Linked DNA regions of Homo sapiens: region 2 is linked to region 1. Evidence: promoter capture Hi-C in human tissues and cell types (Jung and others, 2019). All regions are on one chromosome and are shown on one strand. The core of a region is centred on a gene start or on the middle of the fragment in contact, and the rest is flanking DNA. Distances in the headings are between cores, read along the strand shown.

What was found. Contacts are between HindIII fragments. The study calls those that stand out against the background at their distance.
Region 2: a contact is called between a fragment that was not itself captured here and the fragment with the promoter of PEX26 in region 1, in 5 of the 25 tissues and cell types used here (lymphoblastoid cells, pancreas, small bowel and 2 more).

The regions. Positions count from the first base shown.
Region 1 is chr22:18,075,542-18,081,768 of GRCh38, forward strand. It overlaps PEX26 (peroxisomal biogenesis factor 26), which reads left to right and starts at 2,449. Exons shown (of 5, transcript NM_001127649.3): 1 at 2,449-3,065; 2 at 4,333-4,473. The coding sequence starts at 2,836. LOC105372853 (a long non-coding RNA gene) reads left to right here. Exons shown (of 6, transcript XR_001755424.2): 6 at 2,117-2,355. RefSeq lists enhancers at 2,123-2,182, 2,513-2,742, 3,223-3,272 and silencers at 2,813-2,862, 5,828-6,033. The HindIII fragment of the contact is 17,547 bases long and covers 1-6,227 here.
Region 2 is chr22:18,152,004-18,158,230 of GRCh38, forward strand. USP18 (ubiquitin specific peptidase 18) reads left to right here. Exons shown (of 11, transcript NM_017414.4): 2 at 5,555-5,817. The coding sequence starts at 5,661. Among named protein-coding and RNA genes, the nearest start is that of USP18, 4.9 kb to the left of the region's middle. RefSeq lists enhancers at 587-836, 3,319-3,820. The HindIII fragment of the contact is 3,638 bases long and covers 1-3,078 here.

The DNA of each region.
Region 1 (6,227 bases), core at 1,199-3,698:
CAAATCTGCCTCCTCAGGCAAGGAGCCACACTGAGCCCTCTGCCAAATGGAAGGAACAACCCCAAGTTCCAGAGCCTAGGTAGGGCTAGGGAAGGGGTTGTAACGAGGATACTGGCATCTCAGGTGCTCTGCCAGTTTTCCCAAAATAAAACTATTCAAACAATACAAATATTAATATGGGCCTGGCCTTATACATCTGAAAGGACTGTCCTTATTTCCACTGTGTTTTTTGTCTCAAAGATGAGGAAATGACAGAAGAGATGATTTCAAAGGCTGTCCCATGAGCTCCAACTTAGAGACAGAAGTTTGGCTAAGTAAAGACAATACGCATTTATGTTCCCCCAGAGGGAATGAATTCGCTTCTGTTTAGGATTTCTGTGTCTTCGCTTGAGAAAGTCTAAGTACTTGTAGACATAGAGGAGATGATGTGTCCCACTGGATGTGTGTTGAGGAATCCATTTGTGGGCATAATAGTGCTAAACAGTGGTTACATACGGACTGATATGAAGCCCGGGAATAGTTGAAAATTGGGTGAATCAGAAATGGAATACAATCATATTTTTATATGGTTTCTAGCTCTCCTCTCTCCTGCCTTAAATATCTTGACCTCATTCTGGCTGTCTCACTACTAAATAGGCAAATTTACTTTTAGCAAGGCTGCTTCTGTTAAGACTGTGCCTCCATCTCCTGGACAAATTTGGAATAGCAAGAAATTTGTTAGGAAAGGGACTTTTCCAGGCAGCAGCCGCTTAGAGCTGGCCGCTTCTGAGCATGTTCGTCTTCCCAGGCCTGGCTCACATTTTCAGTGCTTAATGCGCATGGCGCTTTATGCGCAATATTACTTAATTCTTCCCTCAGCCATTGGGAGCTAAGGACAAACTGTTATCCCAATTTTACAGGTGAGGAAATCAGAGCTTATTTAAATAAATTGCCGAGGTCACACAACTAGTAAGCGACAAAATCTCAGTCAAACCGAGGCTCTTTTGGTTCAAAGATGTGTATTGAGCTCTACTCTGCTCTGCAGGGACAGAACTAAGTATGTTTGCTATTCAGGGGATACACAGTCATTCCATGAGCAAGTTACACAATGTAAAATAAGGACATTGTGAAAAACAAAACCATACCGTACATAATGCACTTTATAGTAAAGTACTGGGAACAGAGTATTTGGTAAATTGTAACTATAATAATAATTTTAAACAGATCCACAAATCACACTTATTATTATATTCTGTTTCACCCGGGCTTTGCCAAGCTTCCCACATTTGTACTAGATCCTCTTGGCTTTAGTTTCTCCCCAGTTCTCTACCCTTTGAATTCACTCCAAAGCTTCCCTAGAATCTTTGCTCTCCTAGAAATTAGATTAAACAGGCACCTGCTCACATCATACATCCCCTGCCCTTGTCACCAGACATGCACACATCCATCTTCTGGGATTTCCGTTCTCTTGCAGAAAAGTCTGCATGGGAAGCTGAGGCAGAACCAAGTCCACCAGACTCCGAGGAAAGAGAAGTCTGGACCCTGTAACCAGATAAAAGTGAAACCAGGACTTCATTTATTCCACAAATACTTTTTGACTACCTATAGATGACAGGCACTGTTCAAGGCATTGAGGTTCCCACAGTGAACAAAAGAGACAAAAACGTCTGCCTTTGTGAGTTTATATCATAGTGGAAGGAAATAGACAATAAAAATAAGTAAAATATAGACATTGGTATGTAGATGGTGATAAATGATAAGGAGAAATATAAAGACAGATCGGAAGTGACAACAGTGGGGAAGTGGAATTGGTATCTGCATTTAACGTTGTTTTTTAACAGCAAATTCAGGATGGGGCAGAGAGCAGTGAGAAAAATGAGGCCCTTATGCTCAGCGCCCCCAACCCCGCCTCGGTGGGGTCACTATTCATTTTGGAACATTGCCCTTGGGACCAACATATTCTCAGTGGTCCTTGTGAAGGTTTCCACCCTAAGTCCCTCATCCTCACCAGGCAATATTCATTACCCTACAGCAAACTCCGGAGGCAACGCGGAGAAAGTGTGAATCAATTCAAGACTAAGGTTGCCAAAATGTTTGATCAGCTCTGCGTCAGCCTTGACATTACATTACATTACAGATCCCCTGATCGCCACCGTCGCAGAAGCTCTGAATTAAAAGCGTGCATGTAGCTGCACATCCATTGCTGGCACTTCTTCCGTTAGCCTCCGCTGGAACTGGTTAGTGAGGACCCCTCCATTTCACAAGACAGCTTCGGTTTTGCTTCGTTTTGACTTCCGCACCCCGAAGCTGTAGCACCAGTTTGTTTTCTCACGGCACAGGGGCGGCTTCCGGGGCGCGGCGTGCTGGGGGTTGTAGTCCGCGCTCTGCCTCCTACTTCCATTACAGAAGGCGATGGGCCGAGAGCTGAGGAACTACAACTCCTAGAGTACTCCGCGCCGCCGGGACGCCGCGCGGCTGCGGGGCTGGGCGAGCGCAAAGATGTCCGCGCCCGCTGCCGGGAGGCGAGGTGAGTCTTTGATCGTAACCAGGAGCCCGGAGCTGAGGCAGTTCCTGCACGTGTCGCGGGGCCGGAGAAGCTAGGGCCAGGTATTCCAGGGATGCAAGAATCCTGCAAATCTGACGTGTAAACTGCTTCCCCAGCCTCCAGGCGAGCCCAGCTTTTGCCTCAGATAGGCCCCTTCCTTTTCCTTCTCGGGGAATCGACCTCGGGAAGGGGTGTGGGCAAAGAGATGAGGACTCTCCCTCTTCGCCCAGGCCAACTCGGGATATCCCGGAGCCTCTGGGGAGGCGGTCACTCCGACGTCTGAGGACCTGGGCCTTGGACCCGGACTCGTTATGAAGAGCGATTCTTCGACCTCTGCAGCCCCCCTCAGGGGGCTCGGGGGACCCCTGCGCAGCAGCGAGCCGGTGCGCGCGGTCCCGGCCCGGGCGCCGGCCGTGGACCTTCTGGAGGAGGCGGCCGACCTCCTGGTGGTGCACCTGGACTTCCGGGCGGCGCTGGAGACCTGCGAGCGGGCCTGGCAGAGTCTGGCCAACCACGCCGTGGCAGAGGAACCCGCGGGCACGTACGTGCTGGGCTCGGAAATGAACCGATTTCCGGGCGCTCTTGTGGTGGGGCTCAAGGTCTCAGGAGTTCTGTCCTTCCCAGATTGCCCACAAGGAGCTTTACACCTCGCTTTCATCAGTGGTTTGTCTCCGAGAGGGTGGTCGCTCATCGTGTGCCCATTCTACAGAGAAGGGAAGTCGTGTAACAAAAACTTAGTGGGGATCCCACAGCCAATTATTTGCTCCTTGTTCCAAGGTACAATGACATGATGGGAAGGCTGAATGTGTATTAAGTGCTAAGTTCTGTCAGTAAGCAGGTGGTAAAAGTCCTCTCCCAGGTACCTCCGCCCTCCCCGCCCCGCCCAAGGTTGTTTATTCCTGACCTTGGCTGATGATGGGGAATGGGGGTCATGGCAGGAGCAGCGTTCTGGTCCAATTAGAGGACTGGATTAAAGAATTAATTCAGGGCCGGGAGCTGGGGCTTACGCCTGTAATCCCAGCACTTTGGGAGGCCGAGGCAGGAGGATTGCTTGAGCCCAGGAGTTCGAGACCAGCCTGGGTAACATAATGAGCCCTCTTCTCTACCAAAAAGAAGAAAAAGAAAAGAATCCGGAGAAAAAAACCTTGGGCTTGCATTGCTCTTTCTAATGCCACCAGCCTCGTCTGGCAGGTGAGGGAGTCATTTCTTTGCATTGTAAACTTGGGTTAGGCCACGCTAGGGAGGTGGTAGGTAGAATAGCTAAAGTTGACCACAAAGAAGGATGATCTGGAGAGCCCTGGCTGTGTTTTAGGGGACTGGGTGGGAGCTCATTTCAGTGAATGCAGAAGGCTTTGCTTCTGGGTGTCTGGAGGAACCTTACTAGGTGGTGCCTTTTAGCCAGCTATGGAGTCTATACCTCCACTCAGCCAGAAACCTTGCTCCAAGCCCATTTGTTCACAGAGCAAACTCTTAGTTCCAGCTCTCTTTTCAGCCACACACCGGTGCTGTGTGTTATTTCCCCCTCAGGATTACCCTTCCTCTTCATTTAAATCTGATTTCACCTGGATACAAAGATGAACGTTGAGCAACAGCTGACTTGCCTCTTGAAAGAGGGTTACAGGAACTTTTAGTTCCTGGGGGAAAGGGCAGCCCATGAGACCAATTGTGAAGCCCATCTAAATACTAACAGGGATGAGAGAGATGATGGCTGCTGAGTTGGGAGCTGGAGAGGAACAGTCCCAAGGTGGAGGTGGGAATGGAAATGGAGGGGAACCACTTCTAACTGAAATTGGTTTTTCTGCTGACAGCTCATTGGAGGTGAAGTGCTCCCTGTGTGTTGTGGGGATCCAGGCCCTGGCAGAAATGGATCGGTGGCAAGAAGTCCTCTCCTGGGTCCTTCAGTATTACCAGGTCCCTGAAAAGCTACCCCCCAAAGTCCTGGAGCTGTGGTAAGTCTTCTTTGCTGACTCATCAGATCGGTTCAGAAACGAGAGGATTTTCATCTCCTCTCCTAAATACCTACTCTTTTCCCCTTCCCTACTATTGCCCTCCAGATCGGATTCTTTCCCTTCACTTTTTTTTCCCCAGACTTCCATACATAGCAATAAAGAATAAGGGGGAGGAATTTAGGAGTAGAATAGATATAAAGAAGGGAGGAAACAGGGAATAGGAGCGACGTGGGATGACAGAGTGGACAGAGCTGAAAGAGCAGCTTGCTACGTCCTAGGAATTCCTAATTCTTAAAAAAAAATTTTGTTTTGTTTTGTTTTGTTTTGTTTTTTGAGACGGAGTCTCGCCCTGTCGCCCAGGTTGGAGTGCAGTGGCACAGTCTCTGCTCACTGCAAGCTCCACCTCCCGGGTTCACACCATTCTCCTGCCTCAGCCTCCCGAGTAGCTGGGACTACAGGCGCCTGCCACCACGCCCGGCTAATTTTTTTGTGTTTTAAGTAGAGACAGGGTTTTACCGTGTTAGCCAGGATGGTCTCAATCTCCTGACCTCGTGATCCACCTGCCTCGGCATCCCAAAGTGCTGGGATTACAGATGTGAGCCATCGCCCCTGGCCAAAAAATAACAAAGTTTTTAAAATTGACACTTGTACATATTTATGGGGTAAATTAGACATTTCAATATATGCTGTGTATATGTTGTATAATGATCAAATCAGGGTAGTTAGCATATCCATCACCTCATGCATTTATCATTTGTTTGTGACAGGAACATTCAAAAGCCTCTCTTCCGGCTATTTTATATATACAATACCTTACTGTTAACCATAACCACCCTACCGTGCAATAGAACACCACAACTTATTCCTCCTATCCCACCGTAACTTTGTACCCATTGACGAACCTCTTCCCGTCTTCCTTTTCTTCCTTCCTTTCCCAGTCTCTGGTAACCACCGTTCTACCGTCTGCTTCTATGATATCAACTTTTTTTTTTTTTTAAAGATTCACATGAGTGAAATCATGTAGTATTTATCTTTCTGTGCCTGGCTTATTTCACTTAACATGATGTCCCCCAGGTCCACCTGTGTTGTCATGAATGACAAGATTTCATTCTTTTTTATGGCTATATAGTATTCCATTATATATATATATATATATATATATGCGTGTGTGTATATATATACACATATATAAACACATATATACACATAATATACATATATGTACACATATACACACACACACACACACACACACACACACACACATTATCCATTCATCTGTTGTTGGACACTTAGGTTGATTCCATATCTTGGCTGTTGTGAATAGTGCTGCATTAAACAGGGGAGATAATGGATTGCTAGATCATGTGGTAGTTCTATTTTTATTTTTTTCACCTGGCCATTCTTAAGTTTATTTTGATGACACCCGGTGACAGTTCCCTGTACCTAGAAGAAGGTGTTGGGACTCTTGATGTTGGAGTGTGGCTTGTGCTGAAGACACAGGACCTGGTAGGGCAGCAGGAACTTGATCTTGGAATTGTGGAACTGCTTGACTGTCGGCCGGTGGCAGTACCAGAAGCGGGACTTGGCACAACTTGCTTAGGTGCAGAGATTTGCTGGCAGTAGAGGGGCAGCATGTGGCATTTGGGGGTGGGCAGGCAGCAAATACTCTCTCAGTGTGCCCCAGGCCTTCATGGCATTCTCTCAGCACTTGCCACCACTTACAAAAAGGAAGTGCCGTCTTTCCTATTTTG
Region 2 (6,227 bases), core at 10-2,509, 75 kb after region 1:
AGATCCGGCCACTGCACTCCAGCCTGGGCGACAGAGGGAGACTCCGTCTCAAAAATAAAAATAAAAATAAAAAAAGAAAAAAGAAATGCAAAATAATGTGAACACGTCATCGAGACTGCGGTCTACAATTGTGGTTGCCATGATGGGGTGGGTCGGAAGACACCGAGGCTGCTTGAATCATGTTCCTGGCAGGTTAATTTTGTTCCTTTTAGGGCATCTAAATGTTGGAGTTGGCTTTCCTGGCAGAGAGTCCAGTTGTGAGTGGAGTATTGGGTGGAGGCCCCACCCTCCCCAGGTTTTCTGCAGCTTGTTCCTGGCTCTTCTGGGGCTTCTCTGAGGACCCCGATTGGTCCTGGGGCTTCTTTAGTGGTGGGCCTGGGCCAGTTCCTTCCGTTGCTCACCTCTCCCCGAAGCTTAAGGATAACATTTCGGGAAGATCATGAGAGAACGTGAACCAAAAAAAAAAAAAAAAATTCAGGTAGGGTGGGAGCTAAGTTAGTTTAGTATTTGGGATTTTTGTTTTGTTTTGTTTGAGACAGAGTCTCAAACAAAGACCCCGCGCCTGGCCTGGGGGTCTTTTTTTGAGTCAGCAGTTGAGTTTGAAAATCCCCTTCCTTGGAATCCGCCCAGGCTGTTTTCTCTGGTGGATGCTTATTGCCCCTGCTAACTTCAGCTGCGGTCTCTCTGCTCGCCTTGCCCTCCCCATCCTCCTTAGACCTTTTAAGCTTCACTTTCCTTTCCTTGCTGCCCCGCCTCCCTGTCTCCCCAGTGTGATCTACCCTGAAAGGCTGCTGTATTTTGTTTCCCTTTGGGACCGAGCCTGCTCAAATGATCTGCTCCATGAGGTTTTACTGCTATATCCTACTGAAGTATCTGGGAGGTCTTGGCGGAGAAGAGGACAACATCTTGGAAAATGCAGCCTGGAACCTCTCTGCTCTCTTTCATCAGCTTTCCCTCAATGATGAGCTCAAAATCCTCTTTCTTGCTGATGGAATTGTCTGCTGTCATCATTTCAGTTGAGTCCTCCTAGGCTGGGCCTTGTAAGAAGAACAACTGTTTATAACTATTGAAAGTCAATATTTACTAAGAAAAAGAGGTTGTTGTTATCTGAGCCATCCAACATGAATTTAAGAATATATTCCAGGCTGGGCGCGGTGGCTCATGCCTGTAATCCCAGCACTTTGGGAGGCCGAGATGGGTGGATCACCTGAGGTCAGGAGTTCAAGACCAGCCTGGCCAACATGGTGAAACCCCGTCTCTACTAAAAATACAAAAATTAGCCATGCGTGGTGGCACATGCCTGTAGTTCCAACTATTTGGGACACTAAGGCAGGGGAAGTGCTTGAACTCGGGAGGCAGAGGTTGCAGTGAGCTGAGATTGTACCACTGCACTCCAGCCTGGGTAAAAAGAGTGAAATTCCATCTCAAAAAAAAAAAAGGAGACAGGGTCTTGCCCTGTTGCCCAGGCTGGAGTGCCGTGGCACGATCATAACTCACTGTGGCCTCAAATTCCTGGGCTCAACTGATTCTCCTGCCTCAGTCTCCCAAGTAGCTGGGACCACAAGTACATGCCACCATGCTAGGCTAATTTTATTTTTATTTTTAGAAAATAAAATATTTTTTATTTTATTTAGGCAACATGCTATGTTGCCTAGACTGGTCTTGAACTCCTGGCTTCAAGCTATCCTCTTGCCTCAGCCAACCAAAGTGCTGGGATTGCAGGTGTGAACTGCCATGCCTGGCTTTCTATTCTCTATTTCTAGGAGATAAGCTTTTTGAGCTTTCACATATGAGTGTGAACATGTGGTATTTATCTTTCTGTGCCTAGGTTATTCCACTTAACGTAATGTACTCCAGGCTCATCCATGTTGATGGGAATTACAGGATTTCATTCTCTTGTAATGGCTGAATAACATCCCATTTTGTGTATATAGTCCACATGTTCTTTATCCATTCCTCTTTTGATAGACACTTAGGTTGATTCCGTATCTCGGGTATTATGAGCAGTGCTGCAGTAAACATGAGAGTGCAAATATCTCTTCAACATACTGATTCCCTTTCCTTTGGATATATATTCAGCAGTGGCATTACTAGATCATGTGGTATATCTATTTTTAGGTTTTTAAGGAATCTCCATACTGTTTTCCATAATGGCTCTACTAATTTACATTCCCACCAATGATTTGGTTGAGTTTATTCCTCACTCTGAGCAGCATGTTAGCTGGACTTAAACCCCGTCCAGCTTGTCTACATCTGGCCCATCACTTGCCAGTGGGAAAGGCACTTACTTCTTTGTATCTCAGTTTTCTCATCTGTCAAATGGAAATATAACAGTAATTAATTCACATGGCTGTGTAAGGATAAATAAGACAGTACATATAAAAGGCTTTCACCTTTTATAAGAAATAGTGCTTCGATGTTACCCATTATTATTATTTTATTTCATCTTATTTATTTATTTAGATACAAGGTCTCATTTGTTGCCCAGGCTGGAGTGTAGTGGCACAATCATAGTTCAGTGCAGCCTCAAACTCCTGGCCTCAAGTGATCCTCCTCCTTCACCCTTCTCAGTATTTGGGGCCACAGGCGTGCACCACTATGACCATCTAAATTTTTTTTTAGAGATGGGGTCTCAGTATGTTGCCCGGGCTAGTCTTGAACTCCTGGGCTCAAGTGATCCTCCCACCTCAGCCTCCCAAACTGCTGGGATTACAGGCCTGAGCCACCATGCCAGGCCTCATCTCTATATCTTTAGGGTTAGTCACTGGCACCTTAATTTGTTCATTTGGTGATGTCATGTTTCTCTGATTGACCTTGATCCTTATGGCTGTGTGTCAATGTCTGTGCATTGACATAGGTACCTAAGCCAGTCTTCATTGCCTGGCTTTGTTTGGGCTCGTCTTTCATCAGGAAACCCATAGGAGATTAGGGAGAGGCTGATTGGTCAGGACCCTAAGCCCATGACTGCTTCAGCTGTTGTAGTGCTGGGGGGTGCTCTAAGCCCAGCATCACTGTGGTTGGAATTCTTTGGCCACTGAGGCTGACACAGCCCTGGGTTATGCCTGAAGGCCATAGCTGCCGAGACTGGCACAGCACTGGGGCACGCCCAAGACCCACAGCTGTGATGGCGTGCTTGCTGCTGCTGAAGTTATTCAGGGCCCAGGGCCACTGTAGTTGTCAGGTAGTGATGTGGGCCAGATCGCCAGTCCCTGTTACTGGGGCTGTGGGTTCTCATCTGGCACTAGGGTGGGGTGAGATCTGCCTGTGGGTACTGGTCTAGTATCAGGGTGATGAGGCTCTGCCCAGTACTGGGTTTTACTGTAGTGAGCCTAGTCCTGGTGACAGGTGACAGCGTGCTGGCAGCCATCACAGCCCTCGCTCGCTCTCGGTGCCTCCTCGGCCTTGGCGCCCACTCTGGCCACGCTTGAGGAGCCCTTCAGCCCACCGCTGCACTGTGGGAGCCCCTTCCTGGGCTGGCCGAGGCTGGAGTGGGCTCCCTTAGCTTGCGGGGAGGTGTGGAGGGAGAGGCAGGGGCGGGAACTGGGGCTGCACGCGGTGCTTGTGGGCCAGCGCGAGTTCCGAGTGGGCGTGGGCTCGGCGGGCCCGCACTCGGAGCGGCCAGCCGGCCGGCCTGCAAGCCCCAGGCAGTAAGGGGCTTAGCACTTGGGCCAGCAGCTGCTGTGCTCGATTTCTCGCCGGGCCTTAGCTGCCTCCTGGCAGGGCAGGGCTCGGGACCTGTAGCCCGCCATGCCTGAGCCTCCCCACCCCGCAGCCATGGGCTCCTGTGCGGACCAAGCCTCCCCGACCAGCGCCGCTCCCGGCTCCACGCCGCCGAGTCCCACCGACCACCCAAGGGCTGAGGAGTGCGGGCGCACGGCGCGGGACTGGCAGGCAGCTCCACCTGCGGCCCAGGTGTGGGATCCACTGGGTGAAGCCAGCTGGGCTCCTGAGTCTGGTGGGGACTTGGAGAATCTTTATGTCTAGCTAAGGGATTGTAAATATACCAATCGGCACTCTGTATCTAGCTCAAGGTTTGTAAACACACCAATCAGCACCCTGTGTCTAGCTCAGGGTTTGTGAATGCACCAGTCGACCCTCTGAATCTAGCTACTCTGGTGGGGACTTGGAGAACCTTTGTGTCCACACTCTGTATCTAGCTAATCTAGTGGGGACGTGGAGACGTTTTGTGTCTAGCTCAGGGATTGTAAACACACCCATCAGCACCCTGTCAAAACGGACCAATCAGCTCTCTGTAAAACAGACCAATTGGCTGTCTATAAAATGGACCAATCAGCAGGATGTGGGTGGGGCCAGATAAGAGAATAAAAGCAGGCTGCCCGAGCCAGCAGTGGCAACCTGGTCAGGTTTCCTTCCATGCTGTGGAAGCTTTGTTGTTTCATTCTTTGCAGTAAGTCTTGCTACTGCTCACTCTTTGGGTCCACACTGCCTTTATGAACTGTAACACTCACCGCGAAGGTCTGTAGCTTCACTCCTGAAGCCAGCAAGACCACAAACCAACCAGGAGGGACTAACAACTCCAGACGCGCTGCCTTAAGAGCTGTAACACTCACCGTGAAGGTCCGCAGCTTCGCTCCTGAAGCCAGCGACACCACGAACCCACCGGGAGGAACGGACATCTCCAGATGCGCCGTATTAGGAGCTGTAACACTCACCGCGAAGGTCTGCAGCTTCACTCCTGAGCTAGCGAGACCACAAACCCACCAGAAGGAAGAAACTCCGAACACATCCGAACATCAGAAGGAATAAACTGCGGACATGCCCCCTTTAAGAACTGTAACACTCACTGCGAGGGTCCACGGCTTCATTCTTGAAGTCAGTGAGACCAAGCACCCACCAATTCCGGACACACTGGGTTCCAAGGCGAAGTACTCCACTTACCTCTTCTTCCCCCAAGCAAACAGTGTCTCTCTTCACACAGCTGTGCTGGGTTGGGGGAGGGTACACGGGTACCCCTATGGCCACTGAGGCTGAGACAATATTGAGTCACACCCCCAGAATTCATGCCATGAGACCAGCCCAGCACCAGGATGTGCCTAAGGCCGACAGGTAGCTACAGCCTGCCTGCAGCTAAGGTTTATCTGACTGCTGCAGCTGGCCGGCAGTGTTGCGGGCCAGAACACGAGGCTGTTCTGCCAGGGCCGCAGGTCCCCTTGGGTGTTGGGCGGGTTGAGAGGCTTCCCCTGTATGCCAGCCTGGCATCAGGGGCTGAGAGTTCTTGCTTAGTGCTGGCTTTTTACTGAAGTGGGCCTGGTCCTGGGTTGTAAAGCAAAGTCCTATGCGCGCTTCCCTGTCCTTTCCCAAGAGGGCGCTCCCGGTTAGGATTTGGCAGTCGGCTCTGAGGATGAATGGAAACGCCTGGGACCCAGGTTAGGGGATGTGTAGCCTAGCTGTCATTTCCAGCCTAGAGCTCTATGAGTCAGTCTCCCCAAACATTTATCTCCCTCTAAGACCTGCTCTTTGGCATCAGAACGGATTACATGAATACACATTCCTCCTTCTCTAATTCTTGCCTACCCGCATTGTATTTTCACAGAGATTCCATCGTGCCTGGCTCACATAAGCGCTTCCTGGAAGTGAAGTCGTGCTGTCCTGAACGCGGGCCAGGCAGCTGCGGCCTGGGGGTTTTGGAGTGATCACGAATGAGCAAGGCGTTTGGGCTCCTGAGGCAAATCTGTCAGTCCATCCTGGCTGAGTCCTCGCAGTCCCCGGCAGATCTTGAAGAAAAGAAGGAAGAAGACAGCAACATGAAGAGAGAGCAGCCCAGAGAGCGTCCCAGGGCCTGGGACTACCCTCATGGTCATTAGACCCCTCCCGTTTTCCTCTTCTTGACTGCATGTAAATGTTCGGCTCACCCCCTCCGCTCTGAAGCCGCAGAGCTTTGTATTCGACGGCTCATGCTTTCCTGTGCCTGAGTTTCTGCATCTTTTAGATGGGGATACAGCCTGGGCCATAGTGAAACCCTATCTGTAAAAAACAAAAACAAGGTCGGGCGCGGTGGCTCATGCCTGTAATCCCAGCAGTTTGGGAGGCCGTGGCAAGTGGATCATGAGGTCGGGAGTTTAAGACCAGCCTGGCCAAAATGGTGAAACCCCGTCTCTACTAAAAATACAAAAATTAGCTGGGCGCAGTGGCAGGTGCCTGTAATCCCAGCTACTTAGGTGGCTGAGGCAGGAGAATTGCTTGAACCTGGGCGGCAGAGGTTGCAG